Regions from separate parts of the Homo sapiens genome. Here all the other regions are linked to region 3. The links are contacts of gene promoters, found by promoter capture Hi-C in blood cells and fetal thymus (Javierre and others, 2016). All regions are on one chromosome and are shown on one strand. The core of a region is centred on a gene start or on the middle of the fragment in contact, and the rest is flanking DNA. Distances in the headings are between cores, read along the strand shown. Region 1 overlaps FAM204A (family with sequence similarity 204 member A). Region 2 has its middle 49 kb from the start of FAM204A. Region 3 holds the start of EMX2 (empty spiracles homeobox 2). Region 4 has its middle 37 kb from the start of LINC00867. Region 5 has its middle 79 kb from the start of LINC00867. Region 6 has its middle 99 kb from the start of LINC00867. Region 7 has its middle 58 kb from the start of LINC00867.

Region 1 (3,046 bases), core at 336-2,835, 790 kb after region 3:
CCCCTTGCTCCTATCTGAACTCTATTTTGGCAAAAGTCTCTCATTTCTTCCTTCTGTGCTTCTTCAGGGACACGTGATCCCTTATTTGGAATATTATAACCATCTCCAAACTAGTCTTCTCTTTCTGAAACAGGCATCATGTCATTACCCAGCTTAAAGCATTACTTCATATTCCCTCTGAATAACATCCCACTCCCTTCACAATGGGGTCCCCAGATGCTTTCTCAACCCCATCTTCAGCAATTAAAAAGCTATGCTTTTTAATCTCTGGTCACATTTACCATTTTCCTAATGTTCCCTGTGCCTCTGATGTGCTTCTCTTTGAAAAATATTAATCATCCCTTTAGGCTCACGTCGAATGTTACCTTCTCTATCTACGCAGAGCTCCTCAGCCCTACATTCCTATGACCCCATCACCCTCCCCAAACCCCACACCAGGCTCTCCACTCTGTGCTGTTGCTGTACCTTGTGTCCCTTCAGCACCTAACTTGTCTGACACACTACAGTGAGTTGTGTATTCTCCCCTCTTGAGTCCTATACTCAGTGAGAGCAGGCTGTGTGTCACCGGCTTGGTGTGTCCCAGAATCCAGCCCAGTTCCTTCTACATAGAAGACATTTGTTCAGTCTGTGCTACTGAGCTGATATTCACACTGCCGTCATCCATGTTTGCATTCATAGTGAAAGGACCCCACTCAAACTGGGAACATTTATTACATACCAACTACTCTGAGAAGCTTCCAGAGAATTCACAACTGTAATATTGAAGTAATAATGCCCCTATGGTTAAAAAAAGGTACACGTATTGTACTCATTTATATATACATCTATCCTGGTACTAGAATATATACATTCCTCAAGGGCATGGAGAGTATCTTCTCCATCTTGGGCTCCCAGAGCTTAAAATAGTACCTGCACCTAGAACTTTATTTAATTTTTACTGAAAATAGTTATTTTCTTTAAAAAATGTAAATACAACAGCCTCATTTTCCTGTGCAGAATATTAACCATCGCCTCAAATGTCACTGACACATATTTGTATGTGTCAAAATCTATTTGTATAAAACATTAATATCAAACTACAAGTTTCCTTGCACTACAAATTCTTGCATAGCCTGATACCTCAACTCAGAACTTATCCAATCTCACGCAGGGAAGCAATCAAACTAGACCTGCTCCAACCATTCATCTCAACAACCTGCTCACTAACAGCTTCCATTCTTTTGCCTGTCCATTCCCCCAGCCATTAAGATCATAATCTAAAGGTAATAGCATATTACAGTGGAAAGAGCACAGGACTAGAAGACAGGAGATGTGGTCAAAGCTCTGGGTAAATGACATACTTGACTCATAAGCCTCTGTTTCCTCAAAGATAATAAGAAGACTGGCTTGAATGAGTAACCCTCCTAGAAATAAAAATTCTAGGTTTCTATCACATTTTCAGCTTTGTTTTTAGCCCTTTTCTCTTTCTGACAATTTATTTAAATAAAATGTACTACCTTCTTTTAGCTCTGAAAAACTCCTGGTTCCATGTACACCCAAACTTTGTTTCCATAAGAACTTATTAATATTCCAAATACACTCAAAACACTTAGTAAAACATTCCCATCTCCTTAAAGACTGTAAGTTCACAGCAGCTCACAAAGAGCACAGCTGGCAGGATCAGACCTAGGTTCAGACTAGCTCCTCCACTTATGAACTAAGCAACCCTGAGTGAGTTTCTAAACCTCTGTGGGTTGCAGTTATCTTACACATGCAATAAAATGAGAATAAAACCACATTCTCTGCAAGATTATGATGAGTCAAAGAACATATATATAGAATACCTAGCCACGTTTTTAGAATATAGTAGTCATTCAATAAATAATAAGGTGCTCCTATTATTAAACCTAAATATCAGGATACCATTATTGCAAAAGAGAAGGCTTATCTCTATAAGGCTACAGACTGCATTATACTTCTTCAAGCTCAGACCCAAGTACAAGACCCAAGCATTCCACTTTGTCAGTAAGCAATCTCATGAAATAGAGTCTGAGTATTAAGGCTTTTTGAAAAGTTTTAAGCTGGACTCAAGAGTAGCCTTTATTTGACTTATCTAGAATGTCTTCCATACTATAGGAGTGGCAGGAGGCACAGAGGAGCTACTGATAGCCTGCAGCACCTTGGTGTGCTTCTAAGTTGCCTTTTGGCTAGAATCAAAACATAATTTATGATATATCTCAACACAGACAAACCTAGGAATGGCAATTTGGCCACAGGTGAAAAATTTATCTAAACGAAGTATCTAACCCACGAGGCAACAATTGCCAATTAATTAAGTTTTAATATAGATGTCAAGAAGACAGGACTACAAATATCTAAGAAATGTATGGGTACTTGGTTTAACATTGTGGGCTAACATCTATATGTGCATATGTAGAATATCTTTTATATGTGGTTAAAGCTTTTAAAGTCAAACTATACCACAATATATTTATATGAAAATTCTGCTATTAAATATTTATTCTGTTAATATATTCAATTTTTAAAGCTTAACACAAATGAATTATCCATTGAAGTTTGCATTACTGAACCTAAATATCTAGGAAAAAATGAGGCAATCTCTTCATAAAGAAAGGCAGTGGAGGGGCGGAAGAGGTACTTTCATACATAAATGTAAATCATATATTTATTCATAATTTTGTTACCTTTATATATATATATATATATATAATCATACCCACTTAAAATCAATTGAGTCGGCTGGGTGTGATGGCTCATGCCTATAATTCCAGCACTTTGGGAGGCCAAGGCAGGCGGATCACAAGGTCAGGAGTTTGAGACCAGCCTGGCCAATATGGTGAATCCCCATCTCTACTAAAAATACAAAAATTAGCTGGGCATGATGGCGCACACCTCTAGTCCCAGCTACAGGAAGCTGAGGTAGAAGAATGGTTTGCACCTGGGAAGTGGAGGATGCAGTGAGCTGAGATTGCACCACTGCATTCCAGCCTGGGCAACAGAGCAAGACTCTGTTTCAGAAAAAAAAAAAAAAAATCATATGAGTCAG
Region 2 (3,131 bases), core at 470-2,969, 750 kb after region 3:
ATCCCCACTAAAAAAAATTCCAGAAGATTTCCATCCCCCTAAAAAAAAAAGAAAAAGAAAAAAAGCCCTGTACTCATTAGTAATTAAGTCCCCATGCCTGATTCCTCTTCCTCTGGACATTACTTTCTGTCTGTACGCAATTGCCTACTCTGGACTGTATAAATAGAATCATTACAATATGTGGCCTTTTGTATCAAGCTTATTTAACTTAGCATAATGTTTTCGAGGTTCATCAATGTTGTCACATACATAAGCACTTAGTTTGTTTTTATATCTGAATAGTATTCCATTGTATGAATATACTGCACTTTGTGGATCCACTTATCAGTTGACAGACGTTTAAGTTGTTTCCATCTTTTGTCTGTTGCAAATAACGCTACAATGCATGTTTATGCACAAGCTTTTGGGTGAACACCTGTTTTCAGTTCTTTTGGTATCTACCCAGGAGTGGAATTACTGCGTCATATGGTAACTCTTTAACTTTTTGAGGAACTACCAAACTGTTTTCCACAGTGGCTGCACCATTTTATGGTCCCACTAGCAATATATGAGGGTTCTAGTATCTTCACATCTTCACCAACACCTGTTATTGTCCATTATTATTATTATTACTATTATTATTAATCATAGTCATTAAAGTGAGTGTGACCTGGTGTCTCATTGTGTTTTTGATTTACGTTTCCCTAATGACTTGCCAGGATTTATTCCTGCATATTCCTCATTCCCCCCAACTCCTACTTTTTGTCTGTGCTATATATATATGGTCAGATCATAGAGCTAGTACATATTACAAATGTCCTTTGCTCTTTATTCTCAATTCCACACGTCTCCATGTATAGAGTGCTCACTATCAGTCATGACCATGTCTGACATGGTCTCCATGGGAACAGAGAGATCACATCAATGTCTCTTCAGTCTGAAGTTCATTCTTTACTAGATTCCTTAGGAAGAGTTCATGGAATAATTTTCCCTATATATTTGCATGATAATAATAGTTCATGTATGAATTATTTTTGTATCTGAAGATCAGTTTTGATAAATTAAAATCCTTGGCTCACATTTTCTTGAGTATCTTAAGTATGCCACTCTGTTACTCTATTTTCTTATGACCCAAAGCATTGCCTTGAAATGTCTAACGATAACTAATTTTCTTTCCCCTTTAAGTTACAGGCTCTTTTGTTAGAGATGCCTTTTTTTTTTTTTTTACCAGCAATTTTACTAGTTTACTGCAATTTGTCTTGGTGTTGGACAAGACCCAGTAATTACATTACAGTATGGTTTTGTGTTCATTATTCTGGGTAACATTCTCAGGTACATAGCATGCTTTTTCAACATGTGTTTTCAGATCATTTTCTTTCTGATTTTTGAAAACATTGCTTGAAGCAGAGTTTTTAGTAGTTGTTCTGTTTCCTTGCATTAGATTTCCTCTTCGGTACTTCTGTTATCTATATTTTGTCTTCTTTTTTTTTTTTTGAAATTTTTCTTCTTTTCCTTCCCTATTTCTCTTAAAATATTACTTGCCATTTATTTCCTCTTTGTTCCTTCTGGATTACTCTTCTTCTAAAATTATTTTTCTCTGTAGTTTTTTTCTTGCATTCTGTCGCCTCATTCCTGAGTTTTTCTAATTCTGATTTATGCTGTTCTTTCACAGCCCATGTCATTTTCTAATGTCTTTTAGCCTGTTTTGAAGGGGTGCATTATAATTTCTGTGAGCTTTATATTTTTTTCACTGCCTGTAGGAATGTCATTTGGCTTCTTATTCTCTTTTAACTTTATGTGGCATATTTTTGCTGTTATCTACATGTGACTTTAGTTTTCCTAAACTTGTAGAAGGAAGATTGGCTCAATGAGCTTTTCTAACTTCACAGGGTTCTGAATATTCTCTCTCTCTTTCTCTTTCTCTCTGTGTGTGCGCGTGTGAGTGAATAAATATGTTGGCTTGCTTTCTGTGAATTTCTGGCTGTTTCCCTCTGTAACTGTACCCTGCACCTTCCCTTTCCTTCTTCATCTCTGTTATCCCTAGTCTACTCACTTCATTCTCAGTTTTTAGGAGCTCTGTGGACTCCATTTTGAGAGTTCACAGGGGCCCGGCTGCTCCAGCCCCTAAAGGTTTTATTGCGGGTGTCTTGCACCCACCCTTTCAGTTTTACCTGTTCCCAAATTGTGTTGCTCTGCTTCCCCGTGCATATCTGGTGTCTATTCTGAAGCTATCCTGCTCTCCAGCACATACCTGGTGGCTATTTGGAAGTTTTCTCTGATCTCTCAGATGCCCTGTTGCTTACCTCTGCTTTCTCCTGCAGAGATGCCAATTATAGGCAGGTCTCGAAGTTGTCAAAAAGTTTTCCCCAACCACTTGAATGTTGGAGTTCATGGTTTGGGTGTCTAGTTGCTATGACTTTTTTTTTCTTTAATGTGGAGATTTGGAGAAATCTAAGAACTATGTTGCCGTCATCATCACAATCTTGTGGAGTTCACTAGTTTAATGGGTAAGCAAAGAGCCTAGGGGGAAAAAAGGATAGAATAGGACAGGCACAATTAACAGATTTGTGGATTGTTTATATATGCCAGCAAATTTAAAACAACAGTCCTCTTGAAAAATTTTTAAAGTGAAGAATTAGTGAGGTTTTATTCAAATCTGTATATTTGGTTTCTCCTTAAAACAGAAGACCTGGTAATACTGGGCCTCTGTGCCTGGCCTACAAATCCCTACTCCACACATGTTCTCATTTATGTTATTTATGTTATCTGTCTGTTGCCTGAAGGCTCTGGGGTTAGAACCTCCAGTCTAGAGTAAAAGCCACCATGCCCATGTGATTCAAAGCTCAAGAACTATGAATGAAACACAAATTCTAAACAGACATGTTAGCTCATCATAATTTTAAATTCCTCAATTAATTTTACCAAATATATACATATATAAACTTATTTTCTAATAAAGTGTGATTAGAAAGTAAGGTTGGCTTATCTATGTAAAAAATTAATGAGTGCTACTGTCACACACAACATGAGTATATCTCACAAGCATAAGATGAACAAAAGAAGCTTGACACAAAAGGATCTCAGATTTCAAGATTTCATTGATATGAAGCATAAGAACAGGCAAAACCCTCTAGGATCAGAATGGTGGTTAC
Region 3 (2,960 bases), core at 432-2,931:
CTGTCCCCTCAACTATGCATCTGGTGGCAGTGCAGCCTGGCTCACGGTGGACTTCACTCTTCTCCTCCCATTGCCATCGGCTTCCCAGGTTTCACGGCAACCTAGTCACCAAACACAGGCAATTCTGCGTTCTTAGGAGAAATGACAGGGGCCTGGGAGTAATAGTTTTAAACGACGCTAGAATTTTTTTTTATCATTAATTGTAAACGTGCAAAATACCTGCTGGTACTTCACTTTAGAAGAATGTAATTGGCAAAAGGAAAAAAAGGAAAAAAGAGGCGGCTGATGAATAGATAATAGATCTTTAACCACCAATAAACAGAGAGCAGCGCCAGCAGCCTGGGGATGTGATCATAATTATGCCGCCGCGCGAGCCAATGGGGACGAGGGAACTCGGTCCTAAAATCATCCCAAAACCGAAGGCGAGCTCGAAAATGCGGACACGGCCCGGGACCGGAGATGCGATCCGTAGTCGTTAGTTGCACTGGGTTTGCACAGCAACCACCACCCCCCCACCAACCCCGGGACAACAGATGGCATAATAATAATAATAGAAATAATAATAATAAAATAATATCATCTATAATAATAATAACATTGACCACACTGACAAAAATAATTACGACGGAACCTTAATAGTACAGTAGCACCATATCGGGCTCTCCCCTGACCTTGGACTGCCGGTCCCAGATATTCCAGAAGGAATTGTTTTGGGGAAGGAGGTGAGCACCCTCCCAGACAGAAAACGCTAGAGACCGTGGGGCGAGAGAGGGAGAGAGTTGGAAGCCCACTGCTCCGGCGGGGTCGGCAGCTCCCGGTCTCAACTCGCAAACGAACGAGCCGGGTCAAGAATCGCGAACGCACCGACCCTGGGACCTCGAGGCTAAGCGTGGTTGATGGGGTGGGAGGACCCCGTACCCCTCACTCCAGGATCCCTCCTGGCCTAGGAAACCGCTGGGAGTTTTGCTAAGTGTGGGGATTGGTATAACCGAACGGCGCCTTTAGCCCGGGAACCAGCCCCTGCCCGCTTACCCTCGCGGTGCTCTTGGGGCGATCCCAGTTCTCCCGACGCGGGGCCGCGTAAGGCAGCAGCGGCGGAGCGCTAGGCTAGAGGAATCTGTCTGTCCTTCTGTCCTACCAGCTTGGGCGAGGCAGGCTCGGGATTCAGGGGGCCGCAGCGGAGGCGGCGCCGGCCAGGGACTCTGCAGGGACCGGGGTGCCCCGGAGGGAGTGGTGCTGGTGGAGGAGGAGGCGGTGGCTGAGGGGGAGTAGGTGGGGAAAGAGGAGGAGGAAGAAGAGGAGGAGGAGGAAGAAGAGGAGGAGGAGGAGAAGAAGAAACTGGAGGAAGAGGAGGAGGCGAAGGAGGAGGAGAAGCCGCAGCGGGCGCCGCAGGAGCGAGTGAGCTGGGAGCGAGGGGCGAAGGCGCGGAGAAGCCCGGCCGCCCGGTGGGCGGCAGAAGGCTCAGCCGAGGCGGCGGCGCCGACTCCGTTCCACTCTCGGCCCGGATCCAGGCCTCCGGGTTCCCAGGCGCTCACCTCCCTCTGACGCACTTTAAAGAGTCTCCCCCCTTCCACCTCAGGGCGAGTAATAGCGACCAATCATCAAGCCATTTACCAGGCTTCGGAGGAAGCTGTTTATGTGATCCCCGCACTAATTAGGCTCATGAACTAACAAATCGTTTGCACAACTTGTGAAGAAGCGAACACTTCCATGGATTGTCCTTGGACTTAGGGCGCCCTGCCCGCCTTTTGCAGAGGAGAAAAAACTTTTTTTTTTTTTTGCCTCCCCCGAGAACTTTCCCCCCTTCTCCTCCCTGCCTCTAACTCCGATCCCCCCACGCCATCTCGCCAAAAAAAAAAAAAAAAAAAAAAAAGAAAAAAAAAGAAAAAAAAAGAAAAAAAATTACCCCAATCCACGCCTGCAAATTCTTCTGGAAGGATTTTCCCCCCTCTCTTCAGGTTGGGCGCGTTTGGTGCAAGATTCTCGGGATCCTCGGCTTTGCCTCTCCCTCTCCCTCCCCCCTCCTTTCCTTTTTCCTTTCCTTTCCTTTCTTTCTTCCTTTCCTTCCCCCCACCCCCACCCCCACCCCAAACAAACGAGTCCCCAATTCTCGTCCGTCCTCGCCGCGGGCAGCGGGCGGCGGAGGCAGCGTGCGGCGGTCGCCAGGAGCTGGGAGCCCAGGGCGCCCGCTCCTCGGCGCAGCATGTTCCAGCCGGCGCCCAAGCGCTGCTTCACCATCGAGTCGCTGGTGGCCAAGGACAGTCCCCTGCCCGCCTCGCGCTCCGAGGACCCCATCCGTCCCGCGGCACTCAGCTACGCTAACTCCAGCCCCATAAATCCGTTCCTCAACGGCTTCCACTCGGCCGCCGCCGCCGCCGCCGGTAGGGGCGTCTACTCCAACCCGGACTTGGTGTTCGCCGAGGCGGTCTCGCACCCGCCCAACCCCGCCGTGCCAGTGCACCCGGTGCCGCCGCCGCACGCCCTGGCCGCCCACCCCCTACCCTCCTCGCACTCGCCACACCCCCTATTCGCCTCGCAGCAGCGGGATCCGTCCACCTTCTACCCCTGGCTCATCCACCGCTACCGATATCTGGGTCATCGCTTCCAAGGTACGTGCCACGTCGCGGAACTGCAGCGCGCCGCTCCCGCCGCATCCTTCACTGCCCCCGGCCTGCTCCGGGTGGGCGCTTGGCAAGGCCTGGGCGGAGGTTCCTCCGGCTCGCGGGCCAGCGCGCCCTGTTGGGAAACTAGGCGGCGCGGGGCCGGGCGTGGTGTCGATCCCCAGTCTCCGAAGCTACGACTGGTTTGGAGTGATGGCCTGCGGGCCGCTTGACCCTTTGGGAAGGGGTGCGAACGGAGAAGTTGTCCCCCAGTGCGCTCGAATCAGAGCAGGCTGGGCTGTGCGTGCCCGGCGCCGCGGAGCCCAGAGCCCGCGGGATCCCCAGGCTCCTGGTACCCTC
Region 4 (3,118 bases), core at 190-2,689, 850 kb after region 3:
AATACCAAGAGTCAGTGGTTTCCTCTAGGAAGAAGCCAGAGGCAACGCTTGTTCTGCAGACCCCAGAGAAAGAACCAGACCCCACACCCAAGCAATAAATCCAAGGGGCCTTTTCTTGCTTTTGGCGCTGACTCTTTGGCAAGTTACTTCTCTCCTTGCAGTGTGACCTAACCTTCCACCCTTCCCTGGCTCCACTTAGGAGCTCTCACTAAGACATCTGTTGAGGACAGCCCCCGAATGAGTTTCAGATTTGGTAGTTAAGCTCTTGGATGTCATGCTCTCATTCCCGGCTCTATCCACAAGGGAAGTGAGCAACAGGCCTCTCCGTCTTAAAATTTGAGATGAAAATAATAGTCTGTTGGGCAGAGCCTGTGAGAGCCTATAGAAATACTTCCCCACCGCCTTGATTATAAACAAGTAAATGTCCACTGGCATTCTGTACATTGACAGCACGTCCATATCCAGAAAATATGTATGACGGAGAGAAGATTTCAATTCTGAGGCCCAGAGCCCATTGTAAAACGCATACATACAAATTTTCTTTCAATCATTTTTCTCTCTACTTGCTGGGAACTATTTACAACTGTGAAATGTGAGAGTTATTAGGTACGAATTTTAAAATTCTTCATTTCACACATGAGGAAACGGAGGTAGACAACTGCCTTGCTATATTGTGTATACATTATGTAAAGATTTAATTAACATTCTATTTATGTAAGAGAGAAAACCTTATTGTGGCTTAGAAGAATTACTTAGTCTTTTAAACTTTAGCTTTTAATAAAACTTTATTACAAAACCTTTGCATTAAATGGGATCTAGAGCAATCTGCAGATATTTCTAGGCTGTTAGGCAAGGAAACAAGGATATTTGTATCCTTTCCCTGTATCTATGTTTAATTATTGACTTTAAATCACAAGGGATGGAAAACGGAAGCTTTATGACATACTCAGGTCATTCTAAGAAAAGATTACACATAGAAATCCAAACTTTCGAAGCAGATACATTAAGGAATTATTCTGTACAGTACAAGTAAATTACCTGCCTTATAAAATTAATCATTTTATTTAGCATATGTAAAAATTATTAACATCAAAAATATCTATGTAGGCTATATGACTAAATTTAGAAGGGAGGTACACCAGCACCCAGTTATAAATATAAACATTAAGAACTTTATTAATCCTAATATGATACAGAGTCTTATCTTCTAATTTATTTGTTTTCTTAAAGTTCAATTATTATTTTTTTAAATCCTTGAAGTTTTTGTTCAGTAAATCATACCTGTAATCCTGTTTGGTCTTAGAAAAGAAAGACATAAAACTACTGTTTCAACAAAGTGTATTCCTGAGCCGCAGGCTAAGCTGAAATCCATATTTTACTGTCAACAGAGTTAAGGAGATGCATGATCTTTATGGCATAGAAACTCTTTCCTCATATCCTTGTCATCAAACTGTCATGAAAACTATTTCATGCTATTGTGGGTCAAGATAATTATTATATGCTTTTTCTCAACTTGGAAGAACTAATCATATTATAGACCTATCAAATTGCACATATATTATGAGGAGCATTTCTCAAATGTTTCATACTTAAAAGAAACTTCTAGAAGTCCAGAGGTTGTTTGCAGAAGTTCAGTCCTCCGCTAGACCTCTCATTTCCCTATCCTCCCTCATTAGAGCCTGCAAAGGGAGCCCTACTCTCCTAAGATTATGAATAAACAAATGATGGGTAACAGACTGATCCCAGATGAGAGCATTTCCTTCAGGCTCTCGTGTTAAGATGATAAATGGGTGGACCACTTGGCCTTAAACAAATGACAGAGATATATTACAACTGATTATGGGGTATTTTCAGTTTTGTTATATGTGTCCACTCTTGACCCTCTAGATACATGAATAAAAGAAAATTTATATTATCTCTGACATTTCAAGACAAAAGCTCTAAGGAAGCTTCCTCTATTGGACTTCCTGCTTTCAGCAGTAGTAAAACAGGGTGTGGTTTTATTAAAACAACAAAAGCCTGCATGGCAGAACTTTCTGCCCTCCTTTTGTATTACAAACAATAGATAAAACCAGATTCTAATTCAGTCTTTGCCAGTGATTATTTCCCATGCCTTCTTAGCAGACGCCAGGTATTCATATTTTTGTTTCTGTTCTTACTCGATTGCATGGTCATGTTTGGAGCAGGAAGGGGGATATTTTAAACACATTTAACCAGGTCTTCAGTTTGGGGTCAGAAACGTGCTGCAACTCCCACACCAGTCTGCAAACATCTGGCGTCCCAGATGGGAGCAATAACAACTCCGCTCTTATTTTCATAACTGCATTGCAGAAGATGTTCACTGGTTTCCTCCTCGGTGAGTTTAATTCACACCAAAATTTTAAGGAAGATTAGAAAAAGAGAAAAAAAAAGAAATGAAAGAAAACATTTCTGACAGCACAGAGAGTTGGGTTTTCATGCTCCCATTGTACAAAAGATTCTAAGATAATTATAACATATAACAGATCTCTTAGGCTTATTTTGTGAATCAACTCAGCTATATATTATTTTCTATGCCAAAGTTTTATACGCACCACAAAAATGCTATATTTTTCGCCCAGATTTAGGTATTATGTTTTTCTTTTAAAATGATTTTTACCAGTTAAATGGCTTTGTTGTTGTTGTTGTTGTTTTGTAAAAACCAGTTGCAAATCAAGCCACATAGTAGAGTTGCTTTCATTCAGCCTCACTGGAAATATTGACATTAAAAGGTGCCCTGTCTATTGCATCACCAACACTTTTCAACAGCTGCACTAAGGAGGAATAGTGTTATCTTATTTCTTGCTTCTTCCCTGAGATAATTTTCAACAGTATTGTCCAGATTTGCTGTAGTCGTTTTGCTGCCGAGAGGTTGTAAACAAATCAGGGACCCACAGGGAGACTGGCAGCTCCTGGCTGAGAGGAGTCCTCAAGGGGCAGACCACAGGATCACAGATCCAAAGCTGGACAAGGCCTGGAGTCACCAGCACAGTGATCTTCATTTGCAGAGGATAAACTAGGGGCAGAGTCATGTCTGAACTCAGGACTAGCAGCCTAGCATTCCTGAAAAGTAGACCACTAAATGCAAGGGCTGCGAGAA
Region 5 (3,175 bases), core at 173-2,672, 890 kb after region 3:
TCTCAACTTTTCTTCCCAATTACATTTTCTGGAGGTTCTTCTAATATATTAATCTTTTAAAAGATTGAGTGCTCTAATTTATCAACTCTTCCAGTTTATATTCATAATTTACTTGTTCTTGCTTGTACCCTTATTATTTTCTTCTACTTATTTGCTTCAGTTTATTCTTTTCTGTCTTGTCTACAATCTTAAAATTAGATATTATGCCACTTTGTCTTTCTTAAAATTGGGGCATCTAATTTAAAAGTCTAAATTCAGTTATTAGAATGTATACATGTTTATATCTATATGGGTTTTTAAATTACCATTATTTTCTTGTCTGCTCTTAAACCACTTGTGGGTATATTTAATGTATATATAAATCCTGAGATATTTAGTGAAGTTTTAACAAATTATAGTTTGGTGATTTAAAGCTTATTGAGATCTTTCTTTGTGGAAGTATTTTGTATTCAGTTTCTAAATATTCTGAGGATACACAAACAAGGACTGTTCCATGGTTATAAAACAAAAATCTAACACATATTTATTAATTCCTCCATTATTTATCTTTTTAACCTCCTCGAAGTCTTTTTGTCTACTTATTTGGTATTAATTTTAGGTTTTGTTTTTAAGTATTTTATGCCTTTGTTAATTGTCTTTTGTCTTTGGCTTATCCTTGTCTTCCTTCATACTTTGTTACATGAAAGTCCATGTTACTGTTATTAATTACCTGGGTCCTGCTTTCTTTTTGTTCCATTGCAATACCTCTTTTCCTGTGCTTTTGTTTTACTATATTTGTGTATATCTATGCTCCTTTTAAGGTGTCTCTTCTCTTGAATTACATAATTGATTTTGATAGTTTGCCTCTTAATGCAAGCAAGTTTGAGCGTTTATGTTTATTTTTAATTAATTAGCTAATTAATTAAACCAGTCATTTGAAACCTACTTATTTGAAGACCCCTATGTGCCAGGCAGTACTCTAAATGCTTAGGATGGTCATTATTGCAGTGGAATAATTACTACTATGTGATTTGTCTTTTGTTATTGATATGGTTTGGTTCTGAGTCCCCACCCAAATCTCATCTTCTAGCTCCCATAATTCCCAAGTGTTGTGGGAGGGACCCAGTGGGAGATCACTGAATCATGGAGGTGTCTTTCCCGTGCTGTTCTCATGACAGTGAATAAGTCTCACGAGATCCGATGGCTTTAAAAATGGGAATTTGCCTGCACAAGCTCTCTCATTGCCTGCTGCCATCCACGTAATATGTGACTTGCTCCTCCTTGCCTTAGACCATGATTATGAGGGCTCCCCAACCACACGGAACTGTGAGTCCAGTTAAACCTCTTTCTTTGTAAATTGTCCAGTCTGGGGTATGTCTTTATCAGCAGTATGAAAACGGACTAATACAGTTATCATGTCGTGTATTTTTCATGAAATACACAAGTAAAAAGGTCATCAGATTTAAAATCAACAATGTAATTCAATCTCTCAGCCTCACTGAGCTCCAGTTTCCTATTTGTAAAATGGAACTATCAATAACACCTACCACAACAAAACAAGCCCCTACCTCTAGCTTGTGTATATCTGATATACATTAGGGTTACTCTGATTGGAGATTTCATTTTCCCTTTTTGGCCTATAGGTTAAGTCACATCTCTGTGGATAGGTACAGTTATTACCGAAAACACTTGATAATCATTCTTAATGCTATATTTGACTATATTTATTGTTAATATTTTTGGACTGATTTTTATGGCAGACAAAGACTGTTGGCATTTTGAAATTCCCTCCTTTTCCTTCATTCATTCACTTTTTCATTTATTTAACCTAAAATCCTGAAATATCTCTATTTTGCTTCTTCAGTTTTCTTGACTTAAAGAGTTTTTTTTTAGTTCAGTGGTAGCTTCAACTAGTTAAACTTATCAGTAACAACGCTTTTCTTAATATGTGTTGCTTATTTACTTTTCACCATCTATTAACCTATGCTTGTTACATCCACCAACATCCTTTAAGAAAAAGGGTTTGTGAATTTTACATGTTCTAAGACAGCTATTCTGAGAATGCCTTTTAGTTTACTCTATATACTGACCCTAGTCAACTGCATATACTTCTATGACATCATCATTCTCTTCATACTGAAGTCACTCAAATCTATATCTGCAGCCCAAACCCATTGATTTTACCATCTGCCTACAGGATATTTCCCTGGCATGTGCCCAAAATTTCCCCCAAACTGCTGCTTCTTCTGAATTCCCCAGTCCAGTTGTTCCAGCAGAAACATCAGTATCAACTTCAACTTCACACTCTTCCATTCCTTTCCTTCCATCTGTGTCTTAAATATCTCTCAAGTACATTTGCTTCTTTCTAACTCTATTGCCACCACCCCGGTCCAAGTTACCATCATTTCTTGTCTGAACAACGGCAACAAGGTCCCTACTCATCCCTCTCCCACCAAGCTTTATTCATATTTCATTTATTCTCCCCTGCACATCCAGAGGATTTCTTAAATGTAAAACTGTTTCTCATCCTCTTAGTTGAAACACTTTGGTAGCTCTCCAGTGTACTCAGGATAGAGTCAAGAGTCCTTAATGTGGTTTGTCCACCAAGTGCCCACCCAGCCTTGCTTCTCACCATCCCTCTGCACTCTCCTACTCTACCCCCTTTCCCTGGATGATCCCTTCCCATCCTTCCAGCCTCCGTGTTGCTACCCAACCCCAACTCCACCCCTGGCCCTAACATCACACTCAAAACCCTCCATGTTTCCTGAGCGCTCTAAGTTAAATGAATATATGAACTTCTGACTCAGTTGTCTTTATGAATGAAACACATTCTTTAGCCACATTCTTTCTCCTTGAAATGCGATTCCACCATGTCTAATTTTGATCATTTAAATGGGAAAGGATAAAAACCCTCTCCAGTTTATTCTCCTTTCTAAGTAACCTCAATTTTTTACTTGTAAACAAGGAATATCCCTTTTCTTTTCATGAAGCTATATTTCAGTGTTAGTCCCTGTCTATAGCACATCAACTCTATAGCCTTCTCAATTTATAGTCTCATGTGCACACATATTCCTCTCTTCAGGAACTCCTATCACCCACCTAGGATCCGTTCTCTACCCTCCAGTTCTATATACTTTTTGCTATATATTCAGCTTATATGACTTCATTTTATCTTCTCTACTGATCTAATTTTCAT
Region 6 (2,998 bases), core at 162-2,661, 910 kb after region 3:
CAAACCACCATGAAACGTTTGCTAGCTTTGTGTCTTTCTGGCTGGTTGGTTACTTTTCAACCCAAATCCCTACTATGGCCTATCCAGTATAGTAGGGTTTCCTATTGAAAACTCTGTCATTTTCGTAGTAGAATTTTAAATAGGCCAATAGTAGGGTTTCATGTTGAAAATTCTGCATTGCATGGTGAAAATTCTCCATTGCATGGTGGCAGAGAGATCCCTACCCTTCTCCTCTCATGCTAAAATTCATTCCCGTCCCACTGGACACACTTGTCTGTCTGTCCCCAGATGTTTACCAAGGACCAATCACGTTCCAGAACAGTTTTGGCCTCTGGGGAACAAGTTGCACAGCCACGGGCCTCCTTTCTTTTCTCCTAAAAGGCTTCGGGTGGTGCAGGCTAATCTGCAGTGTTGAAGTCGTTCCTGTGTTTCTTTCTTTGTGACCTGGGTTGCTGGATAACACTGCAGTTAAGAATGTGGGCCCTGGGGCCAGGCTGCCTGACTTTGGGTTCTGGCTTTGGGATCTCAGACAAGTCACTGAGATCGGCTCTGCCTCAGTGGACTCATCTGTAGGGTGGGGATACTAAAGTTCCTACCTCCTGGGGTGAGTGTGAGAACAAATCAACACACAGAAATAAATTTGTTGTGAAAATAAATCAATCCACATAAAAGCGCTGAGAAAGTGATAAATGTTCCGGACAAGTCAGCAATTTGCTATGGAAGCAGAAGACACAGCCATCGGCTCCCAGGCGGCCAGTGACTCTCAGGCCTCCCCATAATGTATCCCTCTCTTCTCTCCTCCCCTTTGCAGCCCCCTAACCCTTCTATTGTCATTCTCACCTTCTTCCCTGGTCTACTATTTTCTTTTACTTTCCGATCATTCACTTCTCTTCAACAACCCAAAAAAGAGCATACACTCTAATCGCGTAGCTTGCTTTTTAAAATAATTTCTGTTGAACATAACCTGAGAGTGTTTCCTCTCACATACAGGGCATGAGACTTTCTGGCCTCTCTCTTCTCTCCTTCTAAAGAGGAAGGCTTTCTTCTGCTCAGCCCCTTGTCTTGCTTTTGCTGAGATGAGGCCAGGGATGGAGTCGCAGGGCTGAGAGCAGGAGACTCTCTCTGTGCCAGGGAGGGCTGAGTTTTGGCTGGAAAACAGCCCCTGAGGGGGGTGGGGAGAAGGGAGCCAAAGGGACAAGAGAGGCTTTGGGGAACTGGTGTGGGGCTGGAGTTTTGAAATTAAAAAGGGAGAAAAATAATTTGGGGTACTTCAGAGAGAGAGGAATAGAGGCTATTTTAGAAGTTTGGCTGCGTGTGTGTGTGTGTGTGTGTGTGTGTGTGTGTGTGTGTGTGTGTGCAATTTCCCCTCTATTGCCTTTCAAGAAAGAGTGCTTCAAGGATGTACACATTACCACCAGGGCTTTCAAAATTGATTCGTGTTTCTTTTGGATTCTGTGAGCAGGAAGGCCCAAATGTATTCGGGTTACAATTACAATAGGAGCTAGCACTCACTGAGCACCCACTGTATCCCAGGTACCAGGCTGGGGGCCTCATTAGGCAAAGTCTCTCATCCTCAGAGACACTGTGCAAAGAAGGTAAGCTGATTCCTTTTTTACTGGAATTTAGTTCCAGTGAAGTTAAACAAAGTCACCTTGCACCACCCAGCTAATGAGAGACAGAGTTGGGATTTGAACCCAAGTCTGTCTGATTCCAATGCCTGGAGTCTTTCCACCACTTCACTGGATCTGAGCATAAGCCTTTAGAGTGTATGTTTAAAATGTTCTGTTTATTATTATTACTACTTTTTAAAATTTCAGTGGCATGTCTAATGTAATACCATGTGCATTCTAGAATGTGTTGTCCTTAGCACCTTTGAAGTCAGATACCATCTCACGGTTAGTGGATGCTGCTGGTCATATGGTTATTAGAGTTTCATATCAAAACTTCCTATCCAGGTGTCAGAATGAGACTCAAAGAAATTGATAATTTTTCAAATATTTTATTGCGTGTGTACATACTGCCAGAGAAAGAAGGGCTCTAAGGAGACTGTTTAAGATTTTAGTGCAGCTACTCAAAAATAAGTACATAATGTTTTTTGATTTCTCAGAGGCCTAAAAGAATAGTAAACAAATCGTGCAGCCAGCATTTTAGAGCGTACTACCTGGGAAAAGCATTGTTTGTTCATAGCAAATATGTAACCACAAAACACATTAAAATGCAGGAAAATCATCTGACCAAACAAAATAACGATAAATCAGCTTGAAACTTGTTGCCATCACAGGATATTAAATACGCTCATCTAGGAAAGAAGATGCATTAGTCACCGACCGAACTGTGCACATAATTAAAGGGGTGGCCACACTATGATATATAGGTTGGATCTTCTAATTACTTAGCTGTAGCAATTAGGATTTTCTTTGTATTACACTTCTTCAGGCCAAAGATGCCTTCTATCGCTCGGGCCAGATTTAGGAGAGCAAATTCTGGCTTCCATCCCATTCCCCATTGCCATCCCCCAGCTGAAGCTGTTCTAAACTGGAGATCTTAAAGGCAAGTCCAATGCTGTGAGGAGGAGATGAGAGGAGAGTCACTGTGATGACCGCACTTGATGTCTCCTGGAAAGACCACTTTGCTTGGGGTCTCTTCTCCATTTCAGGAGGCCTGTAGCCTTGGAGACGTGGAGTTCTGTTTTCATCGAATACAGTAGCTCCCAGACATTACTAGAGAAAGATCAGAAGGGGCAGGAGCTAAATAGAAATATATATCACATTTTTTAAACCTGAGTAGTCCATAACAGTATTATTTTTTACAAAGGCTTTAGGAGGCCATTGCAGCAGGAACAGGAAGGGGAGCACATCTATTATTTATCTAATGCATTCCATGTGCAGGAACTCTGCTGGAGTCAAAATGGCAGGGTTCAAATCATGGCTCAGACACTTACAAGCTGTGTGGCATCAGGAGACTTACTTAAACTCTCTGAACTTCAGTTTTCCTATCT
Region 7 (3,056 bases), core at 4-2,503, 870 kb after region 3:
ACAACAGTGTATCTTGTTTAAAGAGAAATACTCGATTCCTTTCATTGTCTTAATTCATAGGTGGTTTAAATGGCTAGAGAAAAAGCCTAAGTCTCCTGAGCTTGAATAAAAAATAAAATGAACCATTTACTTAATGCCCCATTTGAAGCCACGGGCCCTTTGGAGAGTTTGGCCAGACCATTTGTAAGATTGGAGATGGTATTTGCATACATTCCCACACCTGGGAGTGAATCTGTGTAATAGACACTTGGATATATACCAGTGAGAAATACAAGTTGGGAGTGTCTACCAGGGAGGAGATCTCAGCCCATACTAAATTCTAATTCAGGTCAGGAAAACAGAGTTCCCTAGCAAGATTCCTTTTATATCCAAATTTAAGATTCAGAACCAAAACAGCAGAGAAAGAGAATTCAGAATTTTCTGTCTAATGCCAGTGGGATACTAAGAGTATTACTTTCAGATTCACCATTTAAAGCAACTTACCACTAAAAATATCTTCTGATGAAATGGAAACTGAACCCCCTACCAGGATATTAGAAATTATGCAGAAACAGGTTATAGTTTTCTGACTTTATTAAGATAGATTTCTTTGTGTGACCTGAGAGGCAAATACCATTGACACAAGTTGCTAAATGCTTACGGATTAGGATAATGACACGAAATAGCTTGAGCTCTGCTATTTTTGCAATAGACAAATTTAGGTATAAAGCATATTACTTATCTTTGCCTGATGTTTATATTTCTCATAAACTTTTCAGTCAATCTAATTTTTTAAATCAAAATATAACCAAAGCCCTAGAGGTTGCTCAGGTTAAAAATATATTTTAACTATGACTATCATAGGAACACTAGTGACCAAAAATGTATTTTACCAATGACTCCCAGAAATCTAAGCTTTCAGAATTTTCAGAACCACCAGAATAGAAACAGACTTTGGTGGACCCCGGATTTTTATTTTTGTTTTTGTTTTAACAAACCCCACCTCTTTCTCCAGCATCTTATCAGTACATGCAGGCCATTTATGATTTTTCCTACATATTCATTCCTTTCTCGGAGAAATTTAAGACTTTATTACCAATTTTGGTGGATATTCTGTCTAACTTTTATGTTGGACAGGACTTAAGAGACCCTGAGCCAAATGGGGCCCCTGTTTCTGTTGCTTCCAGACAGTGAAGGACCTGAAGGCTGAACTGGGGTGTGTGTGTGTGTGTGTGTGTGTGTGTCTATGTGTGTGTGTCTGTGTACATGTGTGTGTGTTGGGGTGGGGGCAGTTGCTCTGTCTTTTCCTTAAATTTTCTTATAAGTCACCTCTAATGAGCAGAAGTTGTATGCAAACTCCCTAAAGAGAGGGCAGGTAAATTGTTTCTTAATTCTGCTCAGCCACCACGGATCAACATTTATTCCTCTGGCTCAAAAATTACAAAGTTGGTTCATGCCTGGATGCTTAAGCCTGTGGGGACTCGAGAACTCTAAACCGTACTGGGCCTTGACAGGCAGAATGTCTGTAAAATTACTCTGAAAACATTAAATCTTCATGGCTGGGAGATTAAGACTCTCTTCCTCAGTGTAGGTATTTTTTAGTACAGAGTGTTAAAATCGACTTGCCTTTGTTAAAGCTTCCATGTTCCTACGGTTTCCACCTAAGCCAGTAAGGAGACATAGGGATGTATTTTTTGGTGCTAGAACACTGTAAAGACCGTGCCCGTATCAGGGGCACACACAGAGCTTTTCTTGAAATAGACTTTTGGTGTAAGCCTTTTTCTGAAATAAGGCTTTGGGGAAAACAAAAAGAAAGAAAAAAAGCTACCTGCTCTGATTAGGCTCACAAAGAGACTACAGTACTCCACATTATCTTAAGAAAAACAAAAGCCCGAAAGCACAGCCCACAGCCTTTCCATCAAGTAGCAGGCATTAAAGTACATTAGCTCTATCATTTGTATGTCTATAAATATCAATAAAGTATGTGATTTGGCTTCACTTTCACACAAAGAAGGAGGACTATCCTTTTCAGGAAATTTCGCAGAGACACTCACCAACAAAAGTTCAGTAACTTAATCTTTGGAAAGCTCAATAATGCTGAGTTCAAAATTGCAGGTTTTAAACTAATGTACCTGATAAGTGCTGATGGCAGAACTAAAGCGAGCCATTATTAGGTAATCCAATATTCCCAATCCCGGTTATCTGTAACAGAGAAGAGCCTCCCTAAAACAGCAGTAATGTGTTCACATCTACATTCATCTCTGAAGTCAAAAAGAGGCATTCTTCATGGGCTTTATCTGTTTCCAAATGTCTGCCTCCACAAGGAGTGATTTCGCACTGCTGAGGCAACTATGCAGATGACTCCAATATCTTTGTCCAATGGGTGCTATTTCTTATGGCTCTCCGGGACTCTGTCCTACAGGCTGGACTTTCACAGCTGTCTGGCTTTTATGTTGAACAGAACTTAGAGACCCTGAGCCAAATGGGGCCTCTGCTTCTGTTGCTTATAAGGGGTGGGGGAAGTTGGTCAGGGTTTTTTTCTCTTCTATGTGTCATACTGCTTCCAACTTTTCTCCAGCACAAGTTTTCCCTTGCAAGGTGTCATGGTGCCTATGGAGAGGGTTTGTAGAGCATCCCTCATGCAAATTTATTTGCACAGGGCCGCTTATCACTGCTGTTGGTTTGAAACATCTATCTTGTTTCTCCTGAGTGGCAGATCCTACTTCCAGAGCTGAAATAAACATGGTCCTCAAACTATTCGTTATTCAGTAACACTTTAAGAGATAAGGTGAAAAAAGGTAAAACTTATTCAAGGTGCCGCATTTGTCCTGCCTCCCTCCTATGGCAACATGGACAGCGACTCTTTTATTACATTTGTGTGTTGCACAGTTTTACATGTTCTAACTTGGAATTAAATTTATTTTTTAAAGATATTTTTAAACCAGAATCTAAGCCTGAATTAAGATAATCCCAATAAGATCCAGAGTGTAGGATGGCAGGTGGATAACTTAGAATGGGGCTACCACTTCTTTTCTCCACAGTCTCGAAGGGTTCTTGCCTGGAAACACACATTTTCA

Evidence for each region. Contacts are between HindIII fragments. The CHiCAGO score rates a contact against its expected background, and 5 or more counts as called.
Region 1: a contact is called between a fragment that was not itself captured here and the fragment with the promoter of EMX2 in region 3, in 1 of 17 cell types (M0 macrophages). The highest score is 5.2, in M0 macrophages.
Region 2: a contact is called between a fragment that was not itself captured here and the fragment with the promoter of EMX2 in region 3, in 1 of 17 cell types (activated CD4 T cells). The highest score is 5.2, in activated CD4 T cells.
Region 4: a fragment that was not itself captured here is called in contact with the fragment with the promoter of EMX2 in region 3 in 2 of 17 cell types (endothelial precursors and M1 macrophages); the score reaches 6.0 in endothelial precursors.
Region 5: a contact is called between a fragment that was not itself captured here and the fragment with the promoter of EMX2 in region 3, in 1 of 17 cell types (endothelial precursors). The highest score is 5.5, in endothelial precursors.
Region 6: a fragment that was not itself captured here is called in contact with the fragment with the promoter of EMX2 in region 3 in 2 of 17 cell types (non-activated CD4 T cells and endothelial precursors); the score reaches 6.6 in non-activated CD4 T cells.
Region 7: a contact is called between a fragment that was not itself captured here and the fragment with the promoter of EMX2 in region 3, in 1 of 17 cell types (endothelial precursors). The highest score is 7.0, in endothelial precursors.

The regions. Positions count from the first base shown.
Region 1 is chr10:118,329,157-118,332,202 of GRCh38, forward strand. The region is part of intron 6 of FAM204A (family with sequence similarity 204 member A); the gene reads right to left. Among named protein-coding and RNA genes, the nearest start is that of FAM204A, 12 kb to the right of the region's middle. The HindIII fragment of the contact is 1,706 bases long and covers 733-2,438 here.
Region 2 is chr10:118,291,440-118,294,570 of GRCh38, forward strand. No RefSeq gene overlaps it. Among named protein-coding and RNA genes, the nearest start is that of FAM204A, 49 kb to the right of the region's middle. The HindIII fragment of the contact is 2,642 bases long and covers 399-3,040 here.
Region 3 is chr10:117,541,065-117,544,024 of GRCh38, forward strand. It overlaps EMX2 (empty spiracles homeobox 2), which reads left to right and starts at 1,682. Exons shown (of 3, transcript NM_004098.4): 1 at 1,682-2,609. The coding sequence starts at 2,204. It also overlaps EMX2OS. RefSeq lists an enhancer at 2,897-2,960. The HindIII fragment of the contact is 6,949 bases long and covers 1-2,960 here.
Region 4 is chr10:118,392,761-118,395,878 of GRCh38, forward strand. No RefSeq gene overlaps it. Among named protein-coding and RNA genes, the nearest start is that of LINC00867, 37 kb to the left of the region's middle. The HindIII fragment of the contact is 1,016 bases long and covers 932-1,947 here.
Region 5 is chr10:118,434,844-118,438,018 of GRCh38, forward strand. No RefSeq gene overlaps it. Among named protein-coding and RNA genes, the nearest start is that of LINC00867, 79 kb to the left of the region's middle. The HindIII fragment of the contact is 2,023 bases long and covers 412-2,434 here.
Region 6 is chr10:118,455,050-118,458,047 of GRCh38, forward strand. No RefSeq gene overlaps it. Among named protein-coding and RNA genes, the nearest start is that of LINC00867, 99 kb to the left of the region's middle. The HindIII fragment of the contact is 4,127 bases long and covers 1-2,998 here.
Region 7 is chr10:118,413,267-118,416,322 of GRCh38, forward strand. No RefSeq gene overlaps it. Among named protein-coding and RNA genes, the nearest start is that of LINC00867, 58 kb to the left of the region's middle. The HindIII fragment of the contact is 722 bases long and covers 893-1,614 here.